6 separate regions of the Homo sapiens genome follow, and regions 1, 2, 3, 4 and 5 are each linked to region 6. The links are contacts of gene promoters, found by promoter capture Hi-C in blood cells and fetal thymus (Javierre and others, 2016). All regions are on one chromosome and are shown on one strand. The core of a region is centred on a gene start or on the middle of the fragment in contact, and the rest is flanking DNA. Distances in the headings are between cores, read along the strand shown. Region 1 holds the start of RPS26 (ribosomal protein S26). Region 2 holds the start of PMEL (premelanosome protein). Region 3 holds the start of SARNP (SAP domain containing ribonucleoprotein). Region 4 holds the start of IGFBP6 (insulin like growth factor binding protein 6). Region 5 holds the start of PFDN5 (prefoldin subunit 5). Region 6 holds the start of NFE2 (nuclear factor, erythroid 2).

Region 1 (3,681 bases), core at 1,182-3,681, 1.7 Mb before region 6:
AAAGAAAAAAATTAAATTACATGAATAAGCTTTCTTCCCCATGAAAATAATGTGTGTCACTTCACACTTGGTCTAACACACAAAATCCCCACCTTATCTGGCACAGATACACTTAACATGCAATATTAAGTACAATTTCCATTTTATTTTTCTCCAGAGAATAGCCTGTCTTCAGTCTTTAAGAACTCAGCTCCTTACATGGGCTTTGGTGGGGGACGTGGGGCAGCACCCTGAAAGACAAAGAAACAAAAGAGTAAATTAAAACCCATGGATCCAAGACTCCCTTCCCCCAAAGAACTTGACCACCATCCTCTCACAAACTGATGTATTCAGGCTACAAATGCATGGGAAGCTGATAGAGGTGGAGGGAGAACACTACTCTGCATCCTAAAAACCAATTCTGATTCTAACACTGCTTTGCAGTGTCTCTAAGCATGTTCAGGTGTGGGTCTCACCTGCCTTACAGCTTAACCTGAGGCACAGACCTTAATTTGATACCCCCTGCACCACAGGAGGAAGCAACTTTTTTTTTTTTTTAAGAGACAAGGTCTCACTTTTGCCCTGGCTGGAGCGCAAGTGGTATAATCATAGCTCACTGCAACCTCAAACTCCTGGGCTCAAGTGATCCTCCTGCCTCAGCCTCTCGAGCAGCCAGACTATAGGTTCACACTATCATGCTTGGCTTCCTTCTCAATATTTTTTGAAGAGATGGGGTCTTGAACTGCTGGTTTCTAGCAATCTTCTTGTCCCAGCCTCCCAAAGTGTTGAGGTTACAGGTATAGGACACCCTGACCCTCCAGGATGAAATTTTAACCATCACTCCCCTGGCTTCCATTCTCCTTTTAAAATACTCACCGCAGGTCTAAATCGGGGTGGGGGTGTTCGGTCCTTGCGGGCTTCACGAGATCGATTCCTGACTACTTTGCTGTGAATTGCACAACTCACACAGTAATGTAGCTTCACATACAGCTTGGGAAGCACATAGGCTAAGGAATAGAAAATAGAGTTATACTGGTATTATATACCTACCTTGCTTTTTTGTTACATGAATGAAGAGCACCTTACATGTTTACGTCAATTAAAACTAAACCTATTTAAATGCCTGTCGGGCACATAAAAGCACCCCCAAAGCACCTGTTCAGCCCAATACCTGAGCACATATGTATAACCCTCAGTTTTACAAGTGAATTAACATCCCACGTGAGTTCATCTTGACACCGCAAGGACCAGACTGACATTCTAAATGCAATAAACCAATAATCCAGTTCCTTCTACACCTACACCCGCCCTAATGCCTACCCTGAACCTTGCTCTTTCTATAAAAGGAAAAAAACAAAGCGACGTTCTTATTGCTCCAAACATCATCCTTGCACACCAAACTAGACGGCCTCCATTCTCGAAACGTTGAAGACATTCTTCCTCACCTGTATATTTTCACAAATATTCAAATAATCAATAGCACAAGAATTGTCAAATTTACCAAGTTTCTAGTTTTTGCAATCTCATAACCGAAACAGGCAAACCTTTACCTCAGAGTAAAGGCTGTGCACTCTATCACAAAGTCACCCTCTGCCCAGAAAAGAATCAAAACGGCAAACAAGAGAATTCTCTTCTACCAGTAACAACCTTAAATACGTGGAAATTGCCTGAGAGGCTCCAAAGAACAGAGCCTCCAAAAGGGCGAAGTTGGGCGAAGGCTTTAAGATACTGGGATCCTCACACAGTTCGCGCCGGTGACCCACTTACCATCGAAGACGCTCGCTTCAGAAATGTCCCTGACTGCTGCGGCCTCCACTATGTTTCGAATGACGAATTTCTTAATGGCCTTGTCCTTGGGCACGCATCGGGCACAGTTAGTGCAGCGAATAGGCTGCACGTGGCCGCGGCCCTTTTTGGCACGACCATTGTTCCTTCTTTTCTTTGTCTGCGACAGGATGGGAAAACTGTTAGGAAAACGGCGCAACTCACCCAGCCTCAGTCCCTTTCCGGCCACAAGCCGCACCGGCAGCCTCCAGGAAGGCGCCGCTCGGATCTCCTGTTTCTCCGCAAATCCCGCCGACCCCCAGAGCAAATGAAATGTACACTCGGTCCACCCCTCAGCCGTGCTCCAGGCTCTCACTTCCCCACAATCCCAGAGTCTGCACCCGAACCCCCACCCTCACCACGCAAGAAGACTCACCATCTTGGAGGCACGGACCGGAGAGAGGAGACGGTGCCTGGCAGGGCCCTCCTATATAGCATGAGATCCCTACGCGGACACCGGGAGAATCCTTAGGAGACGGGCTTCAAGAACGGCAACTCACTTTACTCAAATATTCCTTTACATTCAGCATTTCTGCTGAAATCTAGGGTGGAAATGCGTTCCTAGTGTTTATTTATCCATGGAACAAAGTGCACATGGGACTATTTAGCCGGATGGCGGAAGAAAATCGAGGTTATGTGTCTCCCAGCAAGCCTTGCGCCGCGCCGACTCGGAAGCAATTCTGGACGATGCAGTTTTCCGGTATACGCGACGCTAGGCGTGAAAGTTGCCAGACGCTGGACCACAAGGCGCACTCGTTATTAGAGGCCAGAGAGGGACAGATGCTTGGTGGGAATTGTAGTGCGAAGCCAAGAGGCTCCCCCCTCCCCCCCTTCCCCCCTGCCCCAAGTGCTTAGACCGAAGGCGGCGCTGCGCCACCGGGGGACGCCCTGGGCTCATTTCTCTGACAGTCCTTCTACTAGGTAGGTGTAGGATTACGAAGAGGAAGGCCTGAGAGGAAACAAGCATTTTGTGAATCCCTCCTTCCAATATGGAGAAAATCCCACAATGAAGTGCATTGAGGCTGGGGCTATTTCTCATTCATCTTTTTATCTCTGGCACAGTGCCTGGCCCTGTGGTAAGCGTCTTTATAAATATTAACTCATTTAACTTTGAGCAAGCCTATAGGTAGCTACTATTATTATCCTCACTTTAAAGATTGAAGAATTTAGCCCGGCCTGGTGGTGGGCGCCTGTAATCCCAGGTACTCAGGAGGCTAAGACAGGAGAATCTTGAACCTGGGAGGCGGAGTTTCCAGTGAGCCGAGATCGCGCCACTGCACTCTAGCCTGGGTAAAAAGATCGAAACTCTGTCTCAAAAATAAATAAATCAATTAAAAAAAAAGATTGAAGAACTGACGTGCAGTAGGTATTCTGGCTCCGCTGTACTATGCTGTATGTCACCTAACAAATGGATGGAGGAATAGCCTGGACTAATGACTTAAACGTTTTTCACCCAGATTCATAGCACGAATACATTTTACATTGGTACCCAGTACACACACAAACACGATTACATGCACATGCAAAACTGAAACACAAGCTTTATGAAACGATACTTACCCTTGTCATAGGTGTGCTGGTATGTTCTATTCTTTATTTTTACTTAATCTTTCTGTTCTCTATTTTAATAAATGCTGATCAAAAACCACGAAAATTATTTCACCACTCATTAGTGAATCTGACCCCTAATTGAAAGATTATGTGTAAGCTCCATTTACCTCTGAAGAGCCATCGGAAAGACTTAAGCCTTAGGCTGGGTGCAGTGGCTCACGCCTGTAATCCCAACACTTTGGGAGGCCAAGGCAGGCGGATCACCTGAGGTCAGGAGTTCAAGACCAGCCTAGTCAACATAGTGACACCCCACCTCTACTAAAAATA
Region 2 (4,100 bases), core at 1,033-3,532, 1.7 Mb before region 6:
GAGCAGGGAAGGAGACACAAAAAGAAGGGGAGTGTGTGTGTATAGGAGATGAGGGCTCAGAAGGAGGCCAAAATCATAAAATATCACCCTGAATTGCCTGCCACCAGTCCCCCAAGACATGCCCATGATGAGAGGAGCTGATGAGAAGCATTACCTTGATGAGGGGAAGAGGAATGCCAGTGAGAGCAGAGGCATCCATGAATTTCTTGAGATCTTGGTGCAGAAATTCAAAAACCAGGTAGAGTTTATTTTCTGTGTGAATGACATCCAGCAGCCTAGAGAAGGAAAGTTTGAGGAAATGGAGGTGTGTGAGAGAGAGAAATGCCCACACTGTACAGACAGAACTTATCCTCCTTTCCAGCTGGATCACCTCTCAGACGCATACTTACTTGACAATATTAGGATGGTTAAGCTCCTTAAGCAGAGAGATCTCTCGGATGGCAGTACTGGGCACACCCTCAGTCTCACTTGGAGAGGTTGGGAAAGCAGAGATGGGAATATGGTTACAAATATTCCTTTCCCCCCCACCTAGTCATTTCTTTCCCCCAAGGAGACACCACCCAGCACCCCCTAGGAAAGTGAGAGAAGAGAAAGGGTGATGGTAAGAGCTAATTCTTGGGTAGTCAGGGTGTGGTTTTTGGATATATTAAGGCCATTATCTCCTCTTTTCCCAGGGGTAGGTAAGTAAAGCCGCCTGGTGAAGGTGAAGCAGGGAGACTGTAATGGAGGGGAAAAAATGCAGGAGTAGCCCCCAGCCTCCCCAGAGGGGCCAGTGAGGTTCAACTGCCATTCTTTGGAAAGAGGAGAGAATTCTAAGGTGAGGGTGGGGCAGTGAAGAGGGCTCTTCATTCAGAAAGGCGATTCTCGCCGGTTCCCACATAACTCCACTCCATGGAGAGTCTTGGACCTCATCTCAGAGACCTCCTTTCTCTCCCCGAGTCTGTAGTCGCACATTTGGGGGCACGATCCGGCTCAGTTTGGGAAGAAAGTTTTCCATGGATTCCACACCACCCTATACTCTCCCCAGGGAGTATAAGTATACTCTTCACCTTCTACTGGCCCCCAACCCACCTCTCCACTTCTAAAGAAGTCCCTCCCTGCTCTCTTCCGGTCCCTGGACGGCTACCCGCCCGTGGGGGGTTGGGGGGGACAATCAAGGAGGTCCCCAGTTAGGAGTCCCGGGTACAGAGGCCACTCACGTGTCCAGGCGGATTTTCTTAAGCGCCACCACCTCTCCCGTCAACTTGTTTCTGGCTTTGTACACAACTCCGTACGTGCCCTCTCCGATCTTTTCCACCTTTTGGAAGTTCTCCATGAAGCGCCAGCGAGTCGGGTCAGCCCGGCCCTGGAGCGGGGGCCTGGGAACCCTGCAGAAGGCGGACCCTGGCTCTCGGGGGCCGAGGAGGGGGAAACAGGGCCCAGTACCGTGGCCCCGGGTCGGGATGGAACGCAGTATACCTCTCGCTCTTGTCAATTTGGCCAACTTGAAACAATGTTGCCGCCTCCCACCGAGTTCCCGACCGCCACCAGAGGCCCCGCCCCTGCTTCCCGCGTTTCCCTGGCTCCGCCCCCAGGCCTTTCTATTGGTCAACGTCAGAGCCGGGGGGCGAGCCCAGCGCTCCTCCCCGCAAATGATCCCGCCCCAGGCAAGTTTGGTTCTTGGGGGCTAGACAAGTTTCTTCCCCGGTGGGGCGGCTGAACACTCTTCCCAAGTACCTGCTTTGGGTCCAAGTTTCCTACCTATGTCTCTAGTCTGTAGGGATTTCTTGATTTCTAACTCACTATTTTCACCAATCCTGGGGAAAATATGTATCGACCTAAGGTTAAATTCCACCTGGCCCAGGAGCCTCCTTTGGAAACCAGGAAGCCGGGAATCTCGTTGCAAAGGAATCCTGGGCCTCAGAGGAGTCGTTGCCTCTGCCTCATAGCATACCCCGACACTGTCTCTGTTTTGGGATGCAGGGTTCTGTTTCTGTCTTTTTGAGAAGTTCCTGGTTTAATTCACTCTCCCATGATAAACTGTTGTGTCTGGTATGTGTTACGCAGCTGCCTTTCAGTTAGCTCTTGCCCGGGAGTGCATCAAGATGAGAGTGACCCAGTGAAACCAGAAACTGTCATTGAGTAGCAGGATGGGAAAGCAATGTCTAGGGACCAGGATCCCTTTGTCAGTTTTTCCTTTTTCCTCTCCTCCGGCCCCTCCCAGGCCTTCTCTGAGGGAGAAGAGGAAGGGCTATGCAAATGAGCACCCTTTTCTTATATAGGGGCCTATCCCAGTCCCCCCAGTGCCTTTGGTTGCTGGAGGGAAGAACACAATGGATCTGGTGCTAAAAAGATGCCTTCTTCATTTGGCTGTGATAGGTGCTTTGCTGGCTGTGGGGGCTACAAAAGGTATGTGTGGATATGTGGACATGAGCAGGTGTGAACTTGGGGATGAATTCCCCCTGCTCTGGTTTCTGTCCTCCTAATGGGAGATAGCGGCAATATTTCAGGCGTCTCCCACTCATTTGATTTAGTGAGGATGTGGGCACCTGGGCTCCCTCCCTACATGGAGATTTGGGATTTTGCCTGAAAATAATCTCATATGCTTGGAGGGGCAGAAGGATAGAAGGTCTCTGTGGCACTGATTCTGAGGCTTCCTTGGCAGTGAGCTGGAGCACGGGCTCCAAAGGGGTGAAATGTGCAGGAGACTCTTTTAGGAAACGTCTCTTGGGGTAGGAGATTTAAAGTGGGGAGTCAGAGAATGTGGTATTGGGTAAGAACACTAAGGAGATACAATCCTCTCCTCTTGGGATGGGTACGGGTGAACACAGCCCAGACCTTTTGTTCTGGGGCTGGAGAGATAGGCAGAGGGGTCTCAGCTGAGCATCACATGAAAGGGCTCTGGGGGATTGGGCCTCGTGACAGGAGCAAGGGGCGGGGGTGGGGTGGTGAGAGGGTCTGGAATGTCCCGTGCTGCTCTGAGGAGAGTTGGAAGTGGAGAAAGAATGGGGTATCTTATGACTTCTCTTGTTCTAGTGGTGGGATGCTCAATAGATGATTCCAGATCCTCCCCCAGCAGAATCAACTAGGGTTACAGCACACATTAGAAAGGGAATGAGGCCGGGCGCCGTGGCTCACGCCTGTAATCCCAGCACTTTGGGAGGCTGAAGCAGGTGGATCACGAGGTCAGGAGTTCGAGACCAGCCTGGCCAATATGGTGAAACCCCCGTCTCTACTAAAAGTACAAAAATTAGCTGGGCATGGTGGCACATGCCTGTAGTCCCAGCTACTCAGAAGGCTGAGGCTGGAGAATCACTTGAACCCAGAAGGCAGAGGTTGCAGTGAGCCAAGATCACACCAATGCACTCCAGCCTGGGTGACAGAGCGAGTCTCCGTCTCAAAAAAAAAAAAAAAAAGAAAGGGGATGAGGCCCGGCACAGTAACTCATGCCTGTAATCCTAGCACTTTGAGAGGCTGAGACGGGTGGATCACTTGAGGTCAGACCAGCCTGGCCAATATGGTGAAACTCCATCTCTACTAAAAATACAAAAATTAGCTGGGCATGGTGGTACGCACCTGTAATCCCAACTACTTGGGAGGCCGAGGCATGAGAATCGCTTGAACCTGGGAGGCAGAGGTTGCAGTGAGCCGAGATCACACCATTGCATTCCAGCCTGGGCAACAGCAAGACTCTGTCTCAAAAAAATAAAAAAAGAAAAGAAAAGAAAAGAGATAAGGAGGCCGGGTGTAGTGGCTCACACCTGTAATCCCAGCACTTTGGGAGGCCGTGGTCATAGGATTGCTTGAGCCCAGGAGTTCAAGACCAGCCTGAGCAACATAGTGAGACCTTGTCTCTACGAAACGTAAAAAAATTAGCCAGGCCTAGGCCAGGCTTGGTGGCTCACGCCTGTAATCCCAGCACTTTGCGAGACCAAGGCAGGTGGATCAGCTGAAGTTGGGAGTTTGAGACCAGCCTGACCAACATAGAGAAACCCAGTCTCTACTAAAAATACAAAATTAGCTGGGCGTGGTGGTGCATGCCTGTAATCCCAGCCACTCAGGAGGCTGAGGCAGGAGAATCGCTTGAACCCGGGAGGCGGAGGTTGTAGTAAGCTGAGATC
Region 3 (3,863 bases), core at 871-3,370, 1.5 Mb before region 6:
TTACAGTCCTCTTTGCTTCCACTCCCTACAGTGTTTTTGAAGATTAATATCAGTTCTGCCTTTATTTACTTCTTTTGGCAGTGTAAAATCATTTGGTTTTATTTGGCACTTATCTTTTCTCAGTCCCTTCATTTCCTTACTACCAAGGAGGCAGCAAGGAATGCTTGATTACAGTATTGACTGTAATCTACATTTTACTGCTCTCTGTAGGCTTAGAACTAGTATACCATAATATCTTCAAAGGGTTTTAGATGAGAAGTCTGCTTTTTAACAGCTTCCCTATGGGCCTTTCTACCTGGCTCTTGGAGCTCTTTCTAACCCAGCATATCTCATTTCCCCCATAGACTCACAGCACAATAGGAGAGATGCTGAGGAACTTGCGGGAAGAGGTAAACTGGAGCCCATAGTCCATTTGCTCCCAGTGTGTCAGTAGCCGAGCCTTTCCTTGGTCAGGAGTCTCAAAGGGTGTCCCTTTCACCGTATGAAGGAAGACATACGTAGCCTGGGAACAGGGAAGGTGGCAGTGTGAGGGGCAGAAAGTAGTTTTTCAGTCAAAGAATTATGTTAAGATCCCAAAAGGAACACATAAATCCCCAAACAATTGGTGATTTTATTTTGCTTTTGGTTGGGAAACCCTGGGGTGGGTACAAGGGCGTGGTTTAGTGCTCACCAGGTTATGGATGACGTTGGTCAGGGTCCAGACAACAGGAATGCTGAAGAAGGGGATGCTGAGTAGAACCATATGCAGCAATCCTACCAAGATGATGTAGGCCAGCCAGATGCCTCGGCTATTCATCACTCGGGTGTTGGGGTTTACTTCGCTGTGTGCCACCCCCACATTCATCCTAGCCGTAATGGGGGATCAGGCAGGAGTCCAGCTCAGTTTTTTCTCAACCCCTCTTGAGCTATCTCCCAGTTGTCTCTCAGATAGCCCCAATCCCCTGAACTCTATTGGGAATGAAGAACTTACCCATCACGCAGAAAATAAAAACTGAAGACTTGGGGAAAACTTTAAAAGACAAGAAGAGTCCTCACTACATTTCAGAGACATAGTCATTATTGCTCTGATCTTTACACGTCAACTGTAACATGAAGGTGTATGTGTAGGCTTGGGGCACTCACTTCAGGGAGCAAGGGAAATAGGAGTATCTGACTTTGCTGAAGAAGTTAATAACCATGAAGAGGTCACGTACACCCAGAATTCCAGGCGAAAGTCATGGAATCATCAAAGAACCACTAAGAAGGGATGACAGAGTAAAGCTCACTCTGGTCCCCACTTTGTTCTCTGGGGCTTGTCCACCCTCTCTCTCACCTCCGTGGCATGTAAACAGTCTGCATCCCCATTACTTCTCTCAAGCGTGGGGCACGACAACAACTTGCCCACGGCTTCTGGACTGGGTTAGGAAGGGACCTGAGCTCAATACCTCGAAAGGTGGAGCCTTGGCTCTGACTCCAGGGGCAGCAGTGATTATCTGAACTCGGATCTTTAAAATTGTGGTAGCTCTAAAGCTGATGATGTCTGGTTAGGAAGCGGCTCTTGCCCGCCCCAGCCCCACCGCCAGTTCCTTAAGCCCGCCCCATGCCCCTCCCAGCTTCCTCCTCATGTTCATCGGTTTTTTCAGGGCTCCCTTCAGCGCTCCCCTCTCAGTATTTAGGTCACCACTCCCTCGGCGCCCCTTTCGCCTCCCACCATTTTTCCTCAGCAACCCTTACAGTCTTTGCAGCTCCTACCTGCCAGCTCAGATCCCCGTCCGGCTATGGGCGCGGCGCCGGCTACCACACCTGAAGTCTCCAGGAAGTAACGCCTCTCCTTCTGCCCCTTTCCTATTGGAGGAACAGAATCAGCGCTGCCACCACCCATTGGTTGGTGGTCTGTAATGCAGAAGCACAGTTGGTTGCCATTTCTGTCGTTCGCAAGATACAGTGCCCGCCCCTCTCCCAGTTCCACCTTTTGAAAGAGGTGGGGCAAGCTGCCTAGAGAAGTGAGAGCGACGTCAGCTATTGACCAATGGGAAGAGCTGATGGTATGGCGTGGGAGCAAGAGTGACAACGATTGGTCAGCCTTGCATCTCTACGCCTAAGGCGGGAGCTCCTGGAGGCGGAGGCCGCGGGTGGGGGCCTAGTGGAGTGAGGGGTAACAAGATGGCGACCGAGACGGTGGAGCTCCATAAGCTAAAGGTACCGTGAATCGGGGAAGGGCTGAGTTGGACTTTTCTAGGAACTGAATTCTACAGGGTAGCTTGCGCCTTCTCCTACGTCTTCTCCGTGCAGCCTTTTCCACTTCGTTTCTCGGCTCCCGCCGTAGCTCTTTTGTGCCACCCTTCCACACTACGCCTTCCCTAATTTCCCATTTCTCCTCACGGCTTTACTGCTATATTTATTTGTTATTTCTGCTTCCTTCATCATTGTATCGTCCGTCACCCTTCCCCACTGGGTTGTGTAAGTGCCTTCTACCTGTTATACTCTTCGTTGCTTTTCAGGGCTGCATTACGTCAGTTGGTCCCTCCTTTTTGCCCCATGTCGGAGCCAGGATCCGTTTTTCTTCCCTGGGATGATGTTTCCAGTCTGTCGTCCGAAGCTGAGATTTCCCTGTTAGCAAATGGTGGCATTTTTGTGTATTTCTGTCTAAATAGGTACCAGACACTCAGAAAATACTTCCACTCCCCTTTTCTAGGTGGGATTACGCCCCAAGCCGAATTTTGAAACAGGGAGAGGCCTCTCAGAAGATCGGTCTCGCCTTAGAAGCCTGGGGTTGAGGAGGTCTTGAGAATAGTAGAAGTACAGACACCTCAGATTTAAAAGTTTTCGAGTTCTGTCACGCGGCTCTCGGCCCGCCAGCCTTCCTCACACACCATCTCCAACCACCAGAGAGAACTCACACCTGCAATATTTGGGAAAAACAATTCCAAGGTTAAGATTATCTCTGTTCCATTTCATATCTCGGGTGGGCCCTGCATCTCCTGGTGTTACCATTGGCTGACACTGAATCACAGAAGCTATTTTAAATTGTCTTATGAGACTCTTGGTAGTTTTTTCACACTTAGATATATAAAAAAGTTAAAAAAATATATTAAAAAGAAGAACATTTTAAAAAGTATTTTCTTTTAGGGTAAATTAAGATATCTTGAGTAATTGTCTGTTTGTGGTTTCACAAGTAGTTTTCCCATTAGATGTTTTGGACAAACCAGGCTGATATAGCTGAAACTGAAAAGTGATCCTTTAAAGCTCGAAAAGTTTTTTTTTGTTTTTGTTGCTGTTAAGAAAGCTTAAGGGTAGTAAGGGTAGGGAGAGGACCCTTCTTTAGTCACTTATTAGTTGACCCCAATTAGTCTTTCTGTGAAACTGATGTTTTTCTTACTCTTGGATTCTAAACTCTGTTAGTGGGTTTTTGTGTTATTCTGGAGTTATTGTTAACTTGATGATACTGAAATGCATAGACTATATCAGCGGTCTCTTGATCTTTATTGTGATGAGTTAAAAAAAATTGAGCAATCATCTCCACTTTGTTTATATATACTGTACTTATAGAAATTGTATACTTCTGGACTGTTATAAAATATAACACAGAAAAGGAATTTTTGAATGAGATAAAAAGGAACTATATATAGAAGAGCTAATATTTTCTTCCTATTTGTCCTATTTTTGAAATCCCTGGAGTAAGTCACCAGCTGCCCGATGACTTACTTGCATTTATAGATTGTGTTGGTTTATGGAGTTCCTCCTTCCATCAAATCTGTATTTGTCAGGTCTATATAAAATTTGTATTTGATTGGATAAGTAACTTTTACGTAAAGTCCTCTGACCTGATTTCAGTGTTACAGTCTAAGAGAACATTAGGCACTCCTGACAGCCTAAAAAGGACT
Region 4 (3,682 bases), core at 187-2,686, 1.2 Mb after region 6:
CCCAGGAGACATTTCCCCTGCAATCCTGAGTCTGATCCTTCTTCCTCAGGATGCCCACCCCTCCCCAGACCTTCTCCTTCATTCCCTACATTTAGCACCCAACCATTTAGTTCCAAACTGCCTCCTCTCATCCACCCAGACCACCTTTTAGGAGGACGCCCAGAAGCCTGCACTCGGGCATTTGGAACTGAAAGAAACTCCAAGTGAATTCTCCATCCCCTCCCGTGGAAGGAACCCAGAGCCTCTGGGATGCGCAGTTTGCATTTCCTGCCCTCCCCATCTCCCCGCTGCCCCCCATGTTTTCACGGCTGATTCACTTCTGTCCCACCCACCCAGTGACTCAGCTTCTGCTCTCCTCCCTGGAGCAGGGTGGGGTAGGATGGGTGAACGATTCTGAGCAGGTTTAAATCATAACCCTGATTTGGCAGATTCCCTCTTTCCCCTACTCTTTCTCCCCTCTCCCCTAACCTACGCCCTAGCCTGCCCTCAGTCCCTACTCAAGTCTAATACAACCCTGGATTTGGGGCCTCTTCGGTTCTAGACGCCTCCTGTTTAGGTGCTTCGAACACCGGTATTAGGAGGAAAGGAGTCATTTCTCAGTGTGTGCAGAATTTCAGAGTCTGGGGTTCCCCTCCCCTTTTCTCCAAGTGGAAGCTGAGAACAACATTTGGGTCCTTTCCCCAGCTTGGCCGTCTAGGGTTGTAGGAGCTGGGCCTGCTGGAGCCCATGGGATGGCCCTAAAACCCTCCCATTTCTCCCCCTGCCTCCCCCAAGTTCCCACCTGCACGCACACTCCATCAAGGGAAAATAAATGGAGCAAAAAAGAAGGCCGAGAGCGCAGACACCTTCTGCTGTATCACCAGGTCCCCTGGCTGCACCTCAGCTTCCTGCACTTGCCCCTTCTCCCCCACACAAATGTGCCCCCCAAAGTCGGAAGCGTCAAGGGCCAGGGCGGAAAGGCTTGCCGGGCCACCCACTCCCGTCTCCCCAGGACCCTGCCTGGAGGACGCGGGTCTCACGTGGGCGGGGCAGGGGCGGGGCGCGGACTCACCAGCAGGCGCGCGGGCCGGAAGGCAGCGGCCTCGGCCGAGCAGCAGCGCCCGCAAAGGCGCCTCGTCGTCCTTGGGCGGATGGCACTGCAGTCCTGGGGCGCAGTTAGGGGTGTAGACCCCGCACTCCTGCCCCTCCCTCCTGAGACAGCCCTCAGCTTCCGCGCAGCCCTCGGCTGGCGACCCCCCATCCTCCTCCTCCACGCAGCCCCCTGGACAACCCGCCTGCACCCCTTGCCCGCAGCCTGGGCACCGCGCCAAGGCGCCTCCTGGGCTGGCAGCGAGCAGCAGAGCTAGCAGCAGCAGCAGCGGTGGCAGCAGCCTGTGGGGGGTCATGGTCAGGGTTTGTGCCCCGTCCTCTCCTTCCAGAGCAGTCGCAGCGCAGCTGCTGCCCGCCGCCGCCCCTCTGTCTTAAGTAGCCGCCGGCCAGGGGCCGGGCCCTTTAAGAGCCAGGTGAAGGGGGGTGGGGGAGAGGGCAGGGGCATTCCCTAAACTGGGTGGGACTGGAGAGGGCCCCCCCAACCTGGGTCCTCCCCACTCTTCTTTCCCTCTCCCTTTCCAGTTTCTGTTTACTTCCCAAATTGCTCTGATTTTTCTTGCTTTGTTCCCGGGAATCTCGGCCCGGAATTTGGGAGCTGTACAGCTGGCTGGAGGGACTGGAGGGTGGGGAGGAGCGGAAGAAGGGGAGGACGGGAGTGCAATCCACTTAGTGTGTATGTGTAGGACGACGAGGGGCATGCAGGGACCCGGTGGGGAGTGAGAAGACGGGGGCTGAAAGGGAACTGAGAAGAGATGGTGTGTGTGGATCACAAGAGGAGTGGGCAAATGTGGAGGGACAGAGAAAAGATGGAGAGGGTGGATAACGGGGTCTTGGGAAATTCTACTGCTGATGGGAGAAGTAGAACAGGGCAGAGGAGAGGAAGGGCAAAATTGGGAAAGGAGTAAGAGAAAGCACCCTTGAGGTAAGACTATGGAGAAAAGGGGCCCGAGGGGAACCAGACTGGGGTAAGCCAATGGGGGAAGGGCCGGGAGGCAGGGAGGGATACAACTTGAATGAACCGTAGGAGACCCTAGCATTGTGGTGGGCGCATGCGGAGTCTGGAAGGATTGGAGAGGGCTGTGTGCAGGGTGAGAACTGGCTGGGAGGCAGGGAAAGGGGGAAATTGGCAGGTTGAAACTAGAGAGGGAGAGAATTAAAGGAACTCGTATTCGGGATGCTCTTGGGGACAGTGGCCAGAGAGCAGACCCCACCCCCCTCCCCATCCCCGTCCTTCAGGTAAGCTCGCTCCTCCATTCCTCTCCTCTCCCAGAATCCGTTTCCTTCCCTCCCAGTCATCCATGGGGTTTTCTAGATTCATCAGACTGTCTTGTGCCCAGGGGACTTTGGGGAGGGACTACTCAGCATCTTTGCCTACCTACTTGTCCGCCTTCGCTCCAAGGGTCGGGTTCCACCGCTCCCCACCCGCCTTCCCCAGGCAGTGTCCCGCCCATCCCAGGCACTCCTAGCCAGGCCTCACAAGAGAGAGGAAGAGGGATTGTTTCCTTCGGCAACCCACACCCACCCAACTCTGGGTTATGCAACAGGGACCATCTCATTCTTTCCTAAAACAAGGGCTCTGGGCAGTGACTAAGTTTAAATGCTGGGCCCCAAGCAACAATGTCAGCAAGGCCTTCTTGAACTTTTAGGTAAATAGAAATAATACGAACCTCATTGTCAGCACAGCCCGCTTCGCCATGCAACCCTGGGACCCTAGGACATGTGTTTGGAGAATGGTGTTTTCCTGTTTCCCTGAGATACTGATGCAGACTGGAGAGGCAGGGAGGAGAGGGTTGTGGGGCAGCTGATGGGAGAAGCTACTGCTGATGGGAGAAGTAGACCAGGGCAGAGGAGAGGAAGGGCAAAATTGGGAAAGGGGTGAGAGAAAGCACCCCTTCCACCAAGGCTCTTCAACCCCCTGCCACAAGCTCTGACCAAGCTCCCTGGAACCAAGGCTGTCAGAGATGGGTTCCAGAGTACTGGGGTCCTGCTGCACACCCTTTATCACTATTTATTTTGTCCTACACATGGTTCTGGCTAGGGTCTTAGGGTCTTTCTCCTGGACTTCGGGTTGGTGCTCCTGAATAAGATGGAAAGCCTGTGGGAAGTTGGGAAGGGGAAAGAGATGGCTGTGCTCTTGCAGGATCCCAGTGTGGCTCTTTTTTAAATTTAAATTTTATTTTATTTTATTTTAAGTTCTGGGATACATGTGCAGAATGTGCAGGTTTGTTACATAGGTAAACATGTGCCATGTGGTTTGCTGCCCGTCAACCCAACACCTAGGTATTAAGTCCCGCATACATTAGCTATTTGACCTGATGCTCTCCCTCCCCTAGCCCCTACCCCGCCACAGGCCCCAGTGTGTGTTGTTCCCCTCCCTGTGTCCATGTTTTCTCATTGTTTTCAGCCCCCACTTATAAGTGAGAACATGTAGTGTTTGGTTTTCTGTTCCTGTGTTAGTTTGCTGAGAATGATGGCTTCCAGCTTCATCCATGTCCCTGCAGAGGACATTATCACATTCCTTTTTATGGCTGCATAGTATTCCATGCATTTGGGTTGGTTCTATGTCTTTGCTATTGTGAATAGTGCTGCAATA
Region 5 (3,918 bases), core at 645-3,144, 1.0 Mb after region 6:
GCTTTCTGAGACAGAGTCTCGCTCTATCGCCCAGGTTGGAGTGCAATTGCCCGCTATCGGCTCACTGCAACCTCTGCCTCTCGGGTTAAAGCAATTCTCCTGTCTCAGTCGCCGGAGTAGCTGGGATTACAAGCATGTGCCACCACGCCTGGCTAATTTTTGTATATTTAGTAAAGACAGGGTTTCACCATGTTGGCCAGACCGATCTCTAACTCCTGACCTCAGGTGATCTGCCAGCCTTGGCCTCCCAAAGTGCTGGGATTACAGGCGTGAACCACTGTGCCTGGCTAATTTTTTTTTTTAAACCATTCCCTACTACACACTACTATTCCTGTGTTCCTTTTAGCCTGTCAGTTCTGAGACTACAGATTAAAGATGCCCTACTGCCATAACTTGCTCATTCAAATAAAACACTGAACAAGTGAACACAATCCAGGTTTCTTAGTGACAGTTTAGAAATGAGCCACAATTAAGCTGAAGTTGAAGATTAACAGAGCCAAGCTCCCTGTTTCTATATCCTCCTATTTTTGTCTATTGCCTGTATCTTCTAAGATATTAGCAAAGTGTAAACCACCAGCTTTATCTCCATATTAATGTTCTCAAACAGCAAAGGGAAATATTACATCTCAACTATACATACTCCTTGGTGTTCACAAGACATTAGCTGGATGTTGGTGTGAAGTCAGATAAAAGAGCTACAAAGTGTGTAATAAGAGTATTCTTGGCCGGGGGCAGTGGCTCACGCCTGTAATGTAATCCTAGCACTTTGGGAGGCCGAGGCAGGCGGATCACGAGGTCAGGAGTTCGAGACTAGCCTGGCCAATATGGTGAAACCCCCAACTCTACTATTAATACAAAAATTAGCCGGTCGTGGTGGCGCGTACCTAAAGTCCCAGCTACTCGGGAGACTGAGGCAGAAGAATCTCTTGAACTCGGGAGGCGGAGGTTGCAGTAAGCCAAGATCTCACCATTGCGCTCCAGCCTGGGCGACAGAGCGAAATTCCGTCTCAAAAAAGAAAGAAAAAAAAAAAGGGTATCCTCAAAATCATTGTGAGGAGAGGGTAATCTGAAGTAATCAAAACAATCCCCCTCCCCGCTTTTTGGGGGAGTGAAGGAGAAAGGGAGAAGGCAGCAGGTAGCCGTTCCTGTGGAAAGGATACAGAACTCGTCAGTGGGACGAGTAATTCTTTCCCTGTGAAAGCAATGAAGACAAACACCTGGGGAAGGTTAGCGGCTCCAACGTAAGACGTTAAAGAGAGTTCCAACAGGGCACAGCACCCACAGACAGTGTGAAAAGAACGGAAACAGGGGCAATAGGAGCAGAGGAATGTCCTGTACTTTTCAATTCTAGGCAGGCAACATGCAAAGGGTTCATGAAGCGGTATACGATATGTAATGGATTTTCTCGTTTCAGGTAAGAAAAACTGGGTTAGGAGGTGGGACGAGAGAAGCAGGTTCGCCACTTTAGGTTACCCTCACCCGCCTACCCCATACCCTCGTTGCTCTTGTTCAGCACGTTCAGACAGTCCTTGGCTTCCACATACTTGGTCTGTACCACTTTGAGCTGAGCAATGGACGTGGACAAGAACTCCACTTCCTACAGAGGACCGGGATAGCGGGTCAATGAGAGGACTAAGGGGAGAAAGGAGCGCGGCCGGGGAGGGGGCAGGTCCTGGGATCGGATAGAGGTTTCGCCTGGGAAAGGTAGGCTGCCAACTTGGAACCGGGCGCGAGAAGTACGCGTGGGCAAGGGGGATGTAGAGCAGGAAAGAGGTGCCTCTGGGGCCCGTCCCCACCTGGTCCAGCTGGTTCTTGAGCATTTCTAGCTGCGGCAGATTCAGCTCCGTGATGTTAATAGACTGCGCCATGTTGGGAAGGCCGACTTAACGAAGAGGAAGTCTCTCGGCGAGCAACGCTCTAGCCGTCCTCTGCGCGTCTCGGTGGCGCCGGGAGGCCTCGCTGCGCCAGACAGCTCTATGATCCTCCGTCCCGGAAGGGAAGGAGGGGCTTGAGCCTCTCAGAGACTGTTGTGTGAGTTCATTTCATAAAATGTCTTAAGCCTAGTATTGTAAAGTAGCAGCAAACAGGACTCCTGCCTACAAGGAACTGCAAAATCTTAAAGTTCTCACGACACAACCACGATATTACAAAGTAGTGTATGCTACTCCACGTGGGTGGTATAAGCTACTGGAAAGCAGGCTGGATTGCCATGGCGACGGCTCGGGGGCCTGGCCCTGCTCCTCTCCACCCCGCTTGCTATTGCTGCCTGCTGGTACCCCGCCAGGCCCGATTTCAAATGTTCCTCCCAGCACGGCATGGAAATGGCAGGGAAATTCTAAACTCTTTTTCCCAGATGGCCTCTGAGGCCGAAAGGCAGGAAAAAAAAAAAAATCCCTTGTCAGACCGTTCTGAATTGTCCTTGGAAAAAAACAGGCATTAGATTGAAAGCTTGTCGAAGGCAGGAACCAACCATGTTCTCATCACTGAACCAATTCTTCCCCTCTCGCTATAACCATCTTCCCCCAGCCGGAAGTAGGCTGACACGTAGTAGGATCTGAAAAAGGGTTTATCACCCGTTGCCAGTGAGGTGGTGGGAGAACAGCAAGGAAGCGCCATTGTCAACCAAGTACAGCACAAATTAATCAATAAAATATTTTGGCCGGGCATGGTGGCTCACGCCTGCAATCCCAGCACTTTGGGAGGCCGAGAAGGACAGATTGCTTGAGCCCAGGAGTTTGAGACCAGCTTGGGCAACACGGCGACACCCCGTCTCCACAAAAAATACAAAAATTAGCCGGGCTGGTGGCACACGCCTGTAGTCCCAGCTACATGGGAGGCTGAGGTGGGAGGATCGCTTGAGCTGGAGAGTTGAGGCTGCAGTAGGCTGTGATTGTGCACACTAGCAACAGAGCTAGACTCTGTCTCAAAAAAAAAAAGGTTTTACCATGTGCTGTATGTGAGGGATACGTGAGAGTGTAAGATACTTGCTTCCCTTGAGCTTAACAATTGGAGAGAAAAACCACACTAGAACTCCACAGATCCACAGACTCTACTGCTAAAGTTACACATTGGTAAGTGTAACAGGTGTACATGGGCAGACAGCAGTAGCCTTTAACATCTACTTAGGAGGCAGGCAGGGCAACTGAGGCATTAAAACTAGTGCCATGGCTGGGCGCGGTGGCTCACGCCTGTAATCCCAGCACTTTGGGAGGCTGAGGAGGGTGGATCACAAGGTCAGGAGTTCGAGACCAGCCTGGCCAATATGGTGAAACCCTGTCTCTACTAAAAATGCAAAAATTAGTGGGACGTGGCGGCATGTGCCTGTAGTTCCAGCTACTCAGGAGGCTGAGGCAGGAGAATCGCTTGAACCCAGCAGGCAGAGGTTGCAGTGAGCCGAGATTGCGCCACTGCACTCCAGCATGGGCAACAGAGCAAGACTCTGTCTCAAAAAAAAACAAAAACAAAAAACAAAACACTAGTGCCACTCCAAAGATACCTGCGGCAGGAAGACAGGACGGACGGATGGTACCTGGCCAAAACACTCTCAAAGGGTCTATCACTACCCTTCCTTGGGCCTGTCTCTACTTAGCATTTTGATGCCCCTTTCTCCTCCAGATTTGTCTGCTGAGGCCCAGCCAGGCCCAGCAGGCTTTGTCCTGTGTCTTTGCCTTTCTTCCCCAAGCACTCAAACTTGATCTGCTGTAACCTGTTCCTGTCAGCTTACAGTACCACATAGTAGGAAGGGGGCAGTCATGCCGTGTCTTTAAATGTTCTCAGATAAACTACGCAAAACAGGGTTTAAATGATGTATCTTTATTATACTGAGGTTAAATCAAAAGGAAATGTTTCATATAAAACACTGGGGAAAATCACTTTAAAAGAGTTATCCTAAGGATTAAATCTAACCTTGGAGGTAGA
Region 6 (3,823 bases), core at 1,096-3,595:
TTTTCTAGATAGAGTCTTGCTCTGTCGCCCAGGCTGGAGTGCAGTGGCACGATCTCAGCTCACTGCAACCTCCACCTCCTGGGTTCAAGTGATTCTCCTGCCTCAGCCTCCTGAGTAGCTGGAATTACAGGCACATGCCACCACGCCTGGCTAATTTTTGTATTTTTAGTAGAGAAGGGGTTTCACCATGTTGGTCAGACTGGTCTCGAACGCCCGACCTCAGGTGATCTGCCAGCCTCAGCCTCCCAAAGTGTTGGGATTACAGGCATGAGCCACCGTGCCTGGCCTATTTTATTTTATTTTATTATATACACCTTATTAATGTAATTCCCTGACTAGACTTGACTGAAGATACAGACTGTCTTGCTCATCTTTGTGTTCCTGGGATGTAAAACATAGTAGACACTCAATAAATATTTGTTGAATGAATGAATGATGAGCCTTGTGTTACCCATAATTGTCTATGCAACACCAGTATCCTGAACTGATAATTCTTATTCAATAAATGTTTGTTGACTATCTATAACCTGATATCATTATATAGTCAGCCACAAGTGTGACTGTTACCATTCTTCATCCCCTCTGAGTGGCCCAAATAAATATGCAAATGAGAGAATTATATCTGAGAGCCTACATATGTGACCCAGATTCATGCCCAAGTCTGAAGAGATTCTGAACCCACATGTAACATGTAATGAAGGCATTGGATTGCCTCCTGTCTTACCTTGATCATGCATGTGCAGTCATGATCTACTGGAAAAGGGATGGAATTCAAAGCATTTAACCATAGGTTTGGCATGGGCATTGGCCAATTCCAGCAGAAGCAGGCAGCACAGGAGGCTCCTTATGGTACCAGCATTGCCTCTTTACTTCCATGGTTGTGTTGCTGGGTTGTTGGGGATCTTAGAGGAGAACTAGGCTATTGGTGGAGTCGTGGGGGACACTTAGAGGGCTCACAGCAGCTGCCTTTTATCAACTAGGACTGAACATTTTCATTATTTTAACAGCAAATACAATCCCATCAGAGCATGCTGGTTGAATGCCAGTCCTACTCCAGAGTGGCACCTATCTGCTTCCCCAGTCTTCAGATGTTTCTAATTTAACTTGAACATTGTAAGAAGAAAAAATGTAAGCTGCAGATGTCAGGATTGAAGCTAGACATATAGAGCTGAAAGCCATTACAAATTAGGAGGAAGAAAGGCTCTTTTCTCACAGTCTGTGGAGAAAGATGTTTGACCTGGGGCTTTGGTGGTGTAGCTTGCAGGCAAAAAGATGAATAAGTGGGCTGGGTGAGGTGGCTCATGCCTGTAATCCCAGCACTTTGGGAGGCCAAGAGGGGAGGATTGCTTGAGCCCAAGAATTCAATACCAGCCAAGGCAATATAGTGAGACACCACTTCTACCAAAAAAAAAAAAAAAAAAAAAAATTAGCTGGGCATGGTTGCACTGACCCATAGAACCAGCTACTTGGGAGGCTGAGGTGGGAGGATTGCTTAAGCCTGGGAGTTTGAGACTGTAGTGAAACATGTTCACACCACTGCACTCCAGCCTGGGAGACAGAGTGAGCCCCTCTCTGGAAAAAAAAAAAAAAAAAGATGAATAAGGGTACTTACTGGCCTAACAGAGTTGGGTGCCATGTGGCTGGGGTGCTTTGCCTGGGAGAAAGGAGGACAAAGGACACCTGGGGTCCCCTTTACGGGAGGTGAATAATCTCCCTGCTGGGTGGCCCCCCACCTAACTCCCTTCACACACTGACAAAAACCTGGCCAAGAAAGAATCCTTTGTCCTGGGACTTCTGAGGCTGAGGGGGGAGGGGAGAAGGCTACAGGTGAAAGGACACATCAAAGCAGTCAGTTGCCCCTCCTCCTCCAAATAGTTCCCCTGCCCTTGTTCCCAGAGCCCAGGTTTTCTGTAAATGAAGGCTATACCCTAAACGTCCAACTGCCTAGACAGCTGGGAAGCTAGACACCTGGTCCTTACCTTCAGCTGCCTTCCACCTTGATATGACTCAGTTTCCCTGTCCCTAGGAGAGCCGTGGGGACACAAGGCGACGACAACCTGTATAAAGTTTAAAGGTCACATTCGAGTGGACCATCAGGTTGGAATTCGTCAAATGCATGGGAGAAACGCAGACCTGGCTGGACTCCTGGGCTGAAAAGGAGGGCTGGGAGAGGCTTGGAGCCATGTGTGCCCCCGCTGGCCAGGAGCAAGGTGGGGGCGGGGTGTGGGCAGAAACCACATCGGGCTCAAGTTTCCTCTCTTGGCCGAAAGGGGCAGGAGGAGAGGAGAGCCACGGGGAAAGGGGAGGGTTGGAGGAAGGACTGAGAACTCAGGCCGAGGGCTTCAGACGCTGGTGCGCCTGCTTGGGGCTCCTGTGCTCAGCTCAGCCTGAGCTTCCACACTCAGCGCTCAGCAATGGCCCGGGGGCGGGGCGCGGTCCTCGCAGATTCTCAAAGGTAGCCGGGATCCTCGTCCAGCAGTGTCAGCTCAGGCTCAGCCTCCCCAGAGACAACACCGGGAGCCTCATCTCTCTCCTCACCCTGCTGTGACTCCACCACAGGTGCCTGAAAGGCAGGGTGTGTGTGGGGGGGGCGGATTCCAGTGAGATCCGAGGGGCAGGCTGGGGGGTGAAGGAGGTGAGGGGGGAAAATAACCAACTTTCGGTATCCTAGGAGACCTCAGACTTTCTAGATTGCCCCTGGTTTAGGAATCTGACATATTTGGGAACTCCTCTAGGAGAAGACCTAAGTGGTTTCTTGGGTGCTCTGGGATCCTTGGGGTGGAGGCTGTGAATGGGGATCAGAGAGGGGTCTCCAGAGGCAAGGCACCGCTGAGGGGCTGGGGAGTAGCCAGGAGGAATCCTTCAACTGGTGGGCTACCCTGAGGGAACCAATAGACTACCCTTTCCCCAACTCCATTCCATTACTCTGCCCTGTCTAGGCAGCTGAGAAGGTTTAGGGAAAGCTGAGGAATTGGAAACACTGGATATCTGAACCTCTGAGAAGTGTTGCAAGGTGCGGGGGTTGGATGGGAGATTGCCTCTGGGTTGTTGGCTCCTTTGCCCTTTCTCTTCTCTGTGCCCAGGGGCAGTAGAGATCAGCTGGACCTGGAGGGAGAAGGAAGACATCCCAACCCCAGCATAGTTGCTTCTAACTGGAACTCTTGGCTGCTTGGGAAATAGGGGCTTGGGAAGCAGTGGAAGAGAAGAGAGGAGGTATCAGAACTGCTGGGGCTGGGATCCCCTAGACATCGGTACCAAAGGACTGGAGTTTGGGGTCCAGGGATGAAGTGACACAATAGCAGAAACTCGTCCCCCTCTTCTTTGTTCTCACACATTTGTTTGAGTCATGCATGTCCCTAGGGCACTGAGCTCACTATGCTTAAATCTCTCTCCCTCCTTTTTTTCCCCTTCATTCTGTCTCATCTCTGTGTGTCTCTCTCTCTTCGGGAGTTCTCCCTAATCTTTCTAAATAGGTTGCTTACCGGTTAACCAATACCCCAAGTTTTACTAATCCCTCCTCATCCTTTCACTGCACCTATTGACACCTGGAGAGGTGAGGTGGTCAAATAAGCCTCAGAAAAGGGATCCTGAGGCAAGCCCCCTCTCATCGTTCCCCCTCGTTAAGGAAGTTAAGAGCCCTGGGGCAGCAGCTAAGGCCAAATGTATTCCTCTCTCCATCATCCCTCTCCGAATAGTCCTCACTCTGTATTCCTAATCATGAAGCTCCGTATCATTCTGTGAGTACTTAGGGATTATGATAAAAATCTTTCTGGGTAGGACCACCAGGCTAAGAGTAAGGAGGATGGACTTTAGTCCCTGGTGA

Evidence for each region. The method cuts DNA at HindIII sites, captures the fragments that hold promoters and counts their contacts. A CHiCAGO score of 5 or more calls a contact.
Region 1: a contact is called between the fragment with the promoter of RPS26 here and the fragment with the promoter of NFE2 in region 6, in 1 of 17 cell types (erythroblasts). The highest score is 7.2, in erythroblasts.
Region 2: a contact is called between the fragment with the promoter of PMEL here and the fragment with the promoter of NFE2 in region 6, in 1 of 17 cell types (neutrophils). The highest score is 8.5, in neutrophils.
Region 3: the fragment with the promoter of SARNP here is called in contact with the fragment with the promoter of NFE2 in region 6 in 1 of 17 cell types (erythroblasts); the score reaches 6.8 in erythroblasts.
Region 4: the fragment with the promoter of IGFBP6 here is called in contact with the fragment with the promoter of NFE2 in region 6 in 2 of 17 cell types (naive B cells and total CD4 T cells); the score reaches 6.0 in naive B cells.
Region 5: a contact is called between the fragment with the promoter of PFDN5 here and the fragment with the promoter of NFE2 in region 6, in 1 of 17 cell types (erythroblasts). The highest score is 5.6, in erythroblasts.

What each region holds. Positions count from the first base shown.
Region 1 is chr12:56,040,668-56,044,348 of GRCh38, reverse strand. RPS26 (ribosomal protein S26) reads right to left here and starts at 2,431. Exons shown (of 4, transcript NM_001029.5): 1 at 2,180-2,431; 2 at 1,747-1,924; 3 at 856-986; 4 at 1-230. The coding sequence starts at 2,182. The coding sequence ends at 195. RefSeq lists enhancers at 1,743-2,002, 2,143-2,472, 1,921-2,710 and a silencer at 2,623-2,682. The HindIII fragment of the contact is 3,314 bases long and covers 32-3,345 here.
Region 2 is chr12:55,964,224-55,968,323 of GRCh38, reverse strand. It overlaps PMEL (premelanosome protein), which reads left to right and starts at 2,282. Exons shown (of 11, transcript NM_001384361.1): 1 at 2,282-2,388. The coding sequence starts at 2,313. It overlaps CDK2 (cyclin dependent kinase 2), which reads right to left and starts at 1,494. Exons shown (of 7, transcript NM_001798.5): 1 at 1,200-1,494; 2 at 390-467; 3 at 155-275. The coding sequence starts at 1,315. RefSeq lists an enhancer at 1,724-1,803. The HindIII fragment of the contact is 16,386 bases long and covers 1-4,100 here.
Region 3 is chr12:55,815,981-55,819,843 of GRCh38, reverse strand. SARNP (SAP domain containing ribonucleoprotein) reads left to right here and starts at 2,120. Exons shown (of 11, transcript NM_033082.4): 1 at 2,120-2,178. The coding sequence starts at 2,143. ORMDL2 (ORMDL sphingolipid biosynthesis regulator 2) reads right to left here and starts at 1,803. Exons shown (of 4, transcript NM_014182.5): 1 at 1,732-1,803; 2 at 671-845; 3 at 351-502. The coding sequence starts at 844. The HindIII fragment of the contact is 4,326 bases long and covers 1-3,267 here.
Region 4 is chr12:53,095,421-53,099,102 of GRCh38, reverse strand. It overlaps IGFBP6 (insulin like growth factor binding protein 6), which reads right to left and starts at 1,436. Exons shown (of 4, transcript NM_002178.3): 1 at 1,052-1,436. The coding sequence starts at 1,385. RefSeq lists silencers at 919-1,038, 1,049-1,128. The HindIII fragment of the contact is 8,294 bases long and covers 1-3,682 here.
Region 5 is chr12:53,293,518-53,297,435 of GRCh38, reverse strand. It overlaps PFDN5 (prefoldin subunit 5), which reads right to left and starts at 1,894. Exons shown (of 6, transcript NM_002624.4): 1 at 1,797-1,894; 2 at 1,495-1,597; 3 at 1,161-1,192. The coding sequence starts at 1,868. It overlaps ESPL1 (extra spindle pole bodies like 1, separase), which reads right to left. Exons shown (of 31, transcript NM_012291.5): 31 at 3,798-3,918. RefSeq lists enhancers at 987-2,186, 1,672-2,211. The HindIII fragment of the contact is 3,517 bases long and covers 1-2,450 here.
Region 6 is chr12:54,299,537-54,303,359 of GRCh38, reverse strand. NFE2 (nuclear factor, erythroid 2) reads left to right here and starts at 2,345. Exons shown (of 3, transcript NM_001136023.3): 1 at 2,345-2,559. RefSeq lists an enhancer at 1,458-2,198 and a cis regulatory region at 1,599-2,573. The HindIII fragment of the contact is 10,882 bases long and covers 1-3,823 here.